2 separate regions of the Homo sapiens genome follow, and region 1 is linked to region 2. The links are contacts of gene promoters, found by promoter capture Hi-C in blood cells and fetal thymus (Javierre and others, 2016). All regions are on one chromosome and are shown on one strand. The core of a region is centred on a gene start or on the middle of the fragment in contact, and the rest is flanking DNA. Distances in the headings are between cores, read along the strand shown. Region 1 holds the start of NLRP13 (NLR family pyrin domain containing 13). Region 2 holds the start of ZSCAN5C (zinc finger and SCAN domain containing 5C).

Evidence for each region. Contacts are between HindIII fragments. The CHiCAGO score rates a contact against its expected background, and 5 or more counts as called.
Region 1: a contact is called between the fragment with the promoter of NLRP13 here and the fragment with the promoter of ZSCAN5C in region 2, in 4 of 17 cell types (total B cells, naive CD8 T cells, activated CD4 T cells and 1 more). The highest score is 6.4, in total B cells.

The regions. Positions count from the first base shown.
Region 1 is chr19:55,930,938-55,933,637 of GRCh38, reverse strand. It overlaps NLRP13 (NLR family pyrin domain containing 13), which reads left to right and starts at 1,302. Exons shown (of 11, transcript NM_176810.2): 1 at 1,302-1,645. The coding sequence starts at 1,327. The HindIII fragment of the contact is 1,470 bases long and covers 1-1,427 here.
Region 2 is chr19:56,200,894-56,203,593 of GRCh38, reverse strand. It overlaps ZSCAN5C (zinc finger and SCAN domain containing 5C), which reads right to left and starts at 1,321. Exons shown (of 5, transcript NM_001358413.3): 1 at 1,272-1,321. The HindIII fragment of the contact is 5,550 bases long and covers 1-1,713 here.

The sequences.
Region 1 (2,700 bases), core at 53-2,552, 270 kb after region 2:
TTTCTTCATGATGTTTCAAGTTTTCCTCTGTGTGTCTTTCCCCATCTTTTCTCCAACAATTTCTGGAGTAGTCCAATGAATTTGGGCTGCCAGGGTAGGTCCTAACATACATCTCTTCTGGAGATTTCTCTTTGGGAGACATTCGGGGGTCACACACCAGTAGCTTCAAGCATAGTGTTTTGGGCCAGGCATGGTGGCTCATGCCTGTAATCCCAGCATTTTGGGAGGCCAAGGCCAGTATGCACCTGTAGTCCCAGCTACTCGGACGCTGAGGCAAGAGAATCACTTGAACCTGGGAGGCAAAGACTCCAGTGAGCCGAGATCCAGCCATTGCACTCCAGCCTGGGCAACGAGAGCGAAACTCCATCACAAAAAAAAAAGTCTTTTGTTCTGCTGTCTATCTGTTGCCTTCAATACTACCTGGTATTTTGACATGACCCAGCATACATGCCGGACCAGGTTCTATGGGGGAATAGTGGCAGATCTGTCTCAATCACCATTAGCTGCCTGGTGGCCAAAATCGTGATGGGCGGAAACTTCTATTTTCTCTCTTTGTTACCCCTTCTCCCTGATTAGTTTCCCCCGTTCCCATCTCTCAAATGTCTTTGATCTTTACTGTGACTAATTAACTTCAATGTTCTTCTTATTCACATTTCAGGTGAACCCTCTGAATGTGAGTTGGTAAGTACCATCATGCACCTGTAACTTTTCTAGGACAGCTGTCACTGTTAGTAAGGCAGATAAATCAGGTGCTGATGGCATTGTTCCTTCTGGGATGGGATGAAAGCCAGTGATCTCGAGTCTAGGTAAGGTTGCTAGAGAAAATACCCAGTTGAGGCCGGGCCCGGTGGCTCACGCCTGTAATCCCAACACTTTGGGAGGCCGAGGCGGGCGGATCACAAGGTCAGGAGATCGAGACCATCCTGGCTAACACGGTGAAACCCCATCTGTACTAAAAATACAAAAAAAACTAGCTGGGCGTGGTGGCGGGCACCTGTAGTCCCAGCTACTCAAGAGGCTGAGGCAGGAGAATGGCGTGAACCCGGGAGGCGGAGCTTGCAGTGAGCCGAGATCGCACCATTGCACTTCAGCTTGGGGGACAGAGCGAGACTCCATCTCAAAAAACAAAACAACAACAAAAAAGTGTACTAACACAAGTAGCAGGAAGTACTGTGAAGCGAAAATACTCAAATGTGTAGGCAAGACAGTGAGAGGAGGTGATATTTATGGCTTATGATTTCAACTCTCTCCTTTTCTGCAGGTCACAAGTGTCCTGTGGATATAGGAGTCCTTTGCTGAAGTGAGAAACTGCATGTGTTGGGCAAGATGAACTTTTCTGTAATCACCTGCCCCAACGGTGGTACCAACCAAGGGCTTCTGCCTTACCTGATGGCCCTGGATCAGTATCAGCTGGAGGAATTCAAGCTTTGCTTGGAACCCCAGCAGCTGATGGACTTCTGGTCGGCCCCCCAGGGGCACTTCCCGCGTATCCCCTGGGCAAACTTGAGAGCTGCCGACCCTTTGAATCTGTCCTTTCTTTTGGATGAACACTTCCCAAAAGGTCAGGCATGGAAAGTGGTCCTCGGCATCTTCCAGACAATGAATCTGACCTCACTGTGTGAGAAAGTTAGAGCCGAGATGAAAGGTGAGAGTCCTCAAGAAGGAAGGCGGGAGGGCTGCTTGGTACTCCTGAGGCAAGGAGGTAGCCGCTGGGTTTTTGTGGGGTCATTCCACACTGCCGATCTCCCCCTACAAATCCTCCTTGATAATCTATGACAGTATGATGTTTAAAGGCATAAAGGCTATAAAGATTTAGTGCTCTAGCCTGGGAAGGAGTAGCAAAGGCAAGAAAGGGAATCGGAAGAGGCACATTCAGTTATGTTATAAGCCTTTTTCTTTCTTTCTTTCTTTCTTTTTTTTTTTTTTTTGAGCCTGAGTCTCCACTCTGTCGCCCAGGCTGGAGTGCAGTGGTGCGATCTGAGGTCACTGTAACCTCTGCCTCCCAGGTTGAAGCGATTCTCCTGCCTCAGCCTCCCAAGTAGCTGGGACTACAGGCGCCCGCCACCACACCCGGCTAATTTTTTTGTATTTTTAGTAGAGACGGGGTTTCACTGTGTTAGCCAGGATGGTCTCAATCTCCTGACCTCGTGATCTGCTCGCCTCGACCTCCCAAAGCACTGGGATTACAGGCGTGAGCCACCGCGCCCAGCCCAGGCTTCTTTTAAACATGCAAATTTGTCCCAGTGTGATTGTCGTACTGGGAACAATTTGAGTGCAGCACAGATTTCATGTTAGCTTATGCATGGTTTTGCCCAAGAGAAACACTAAGAAACCACAACAACCCCCGCCCTGCCCCCGCAACCCACCGACCCTGCACTCAGCCGAGCAGAGCCATGTAGGATTGTACACAATGCACACAGGCATGTACCTCAAACATCTACCCGCTTCCTCAGTACGAGCCTTGCCCATTCTACACTTTCTGTCTGATTTCAGATCATTGTTCTTTCACTTCACAAAAACTCACAAGCTGCGACACTTCCCATATTCACAAGCAAAGTTCATGTTTTACTCAGGGTAAAGTTTCATGCCACATCTTCTGTGGCATTGCAAGACCTGCTGAGGTGTTACAGGGCTGATTGTGGTGTTGTAGGATCGTGCAGTGTTTATTGTGGTAATAAAGTGTTTTGTAATTAATCAGCA
Region 2 (2,700 bases), core at 72-2,571:
GCTATGGTGAGGGTTGGGGAGATATAGGTTTAAGGGTATGAATTTCAGTTGAAGAGATCAGTTCAAGAGAGCAATTGTCCAACATGGTGACTTCAGTTCATAACAATGTATTGTATAATTGGAAATTGCTTAAAGAGTAGACTTTAAGCATCCTCATGACCAAAAATGATTAGTCCATAAAGTAAGGCATGTGAATATCAGCTCAATTTACCCATTTTACATTGTTTCTATCCTGCAAAGCACATTATGCTGTACACCATAAATACGTATCTTTCTTGTTTTTCAATTTAAAAGTAAATTTTTTTTTTTGAAAAAGCATATGGATATGAGAGAGAAAAGGCAGCCTGAAATTCTGGAATTAAAAATGATTTTGCCACAGGGCACCTGCTGCTGCTCAGGAGGCTGAGGAGGGAGGATCCCTCGAGCCCAGGAGTTTGACAACCACCTGGGCAACATAGTGAGAGCCTGTCTCTAAAAAAAGGGGTTCATGTTCCTAGAAACCACTTTGTATTCGCTGTCAGTTCATTTCCCATTAAAACAAGCAATGGGACATGGGAAAAAATAAAGGCAGGTACGCGGGTTAGTATTCAATTCTGGGAGTATACAGCACACAGGACCCCCAGGTAGGGACACTTAGTGCAGATTCTCATTGGCCTAGTAGGTTGATGCCCATTCATCAATGGCTGATTTTACCCTGTGGAAAGGGAGAATCCAGCGATGCTTTTTAACAAGTGGTGTGTGGCCAGCAAGGTGGCTCACACCTGTAATTCCAACAGTTTGGAAGACCAAGATGGGAGCATGCTTGATCCCAGGAGTTCAGGACCAGCCTGGGCAATGTACTGAGACCCCATCTGTACAAAAAAAATTAAACATTTATTCAGGCATGGTGGCAAGTGCCTGTAGTTCCTGCTACTTGGGAAGCAGAGGCAGGCGGATCGTTTGAGTCCGGGAATTCCAGTCTAGTCTGGGCAATGAGAGAGATCTCATCTCTAAAAAATAAAATGTAGCCTAACCACGATGAGAAAGTTAATATTATTCCTATTTTAAGGGAGAGTTATATAACAAGTCAGAATAAATAATAGGGTGCAAAGCAGACCCACTGCCTTCACAAGGTGTCCGGGCAAATGCATGAAAAAATAAACCCAAATCTTTCTGAAACCAACACCCCAACCCAAATCTTTCTGAAACCAACCCCTCAATCCAAATCTTTCTGAAACCAACCCCTGCAGGCCAACTCCAAAACCCCACAGACATCCCCAGTGGACACTTACCTCCTTCCTGACTTCTGCCTCCAGCCTCCTCTCTTCTAGGATGTGCTCTCCAACTGCTCTGGAGCTGAACTGTCTATTTATAGAGAACCCCCGGGACTCCAGGCCTCTCTTCCAGTCCCCTGGGCCCCCACATGATTGGTTTAGGGCCATAGAATCCATTGAAGGTGATTAGCATTGATTACATTTCTCAATGAAACCCCACCCACAGGAAATTAATGTATTAAACATGCCTACCATGCAAATAACATAGGTTTTCCCGCTCTACTGAATTACATTTCATATTTCTGAAGTATTTGGAGGCTTCAGGGACTATAGATCTGCAAGTTTTAACCACTTTGCGTCCCCTCATGGCACAGACAGTAATATCCTAATGAGTAAAGGACATGTTAAGAGTTGGTTGAATAATATCAAACCAGTGATTTGCTCTAGTTTAAGGAAAGCTTTCACATGTGAATGTCAAGATATTGAAAAAAAAAGGGACAGTCATTGTTGATACATAATGAGTAGTAGTGATAATTTTTCACTTTTCAAAATCTGGGAATTGACATGGGAAAGCTGTGCTTGAACTAGGCTAAATCACTGCTTTGATATCAGCCAACCTACTCTTAGGTAAAAACAGTGGGAACCAGAGGAAGGCACATGGTCCCCACTCTGCATTCACTTTAGGATGATGGGAGGTGGTTTATAGACATACTGAGTGCTCCCTAGTTCTCAACCCCCTCAGTTAGGCCTCTCAAGCAAGAAAAGCCTTAATGGTGGTATGAATTTTACTGTGTGGATCATGGAGACCATGTGGAATGACAATTAAGTGCACTTTATACTGATTCTGGTTTCAATCCTTAGGAAATCTTAACCCACTGAATTCTGGAAACTTCAAACTCCCTGTGACTAGAACCAGGGAATTATTACCTTCCTGACATGTTGTTTTGAAGATTAAATAAGATTATGTTGGCCGGAAGTGGTGGCTCCCGCCTATAATCCCAGCACTTTGGGAGGCTGAGGCGGGTGGATCACAAGGTCAGGAGTTTGAGACCAGCCTGACCAACATGGAGAAACCCCATCTCTACTAAAAATACAAAATTAGCCAGGCGTGGTGGCGCATGCCTGTAATCCCAGTTACTCGGGAGGCTCAGGCAGGAGAATCACTTGAACCCGGGAGGCGGAGGTTACAGTGAGCTGAGATCATGCCATTGCACTCCAGCCTGGACAACAAGAGCAAAACTCCATCTCAAAAAGCAAACAAACAAAAAACCAGATTATGTCAGTAAAGTGCCCGATACAAGGTCATTTTGCCAAAAAGTTCTGACACTTATTTTCTGATGCATTTTCTCATACTCTGTGATGTTTTTCCTTGTTAAGAATTGAGGTATTGATAGTGAGTCAGAGTTCAGATGGAGTTATTAAGTGGAATGAACTAGAATCTGCCTAA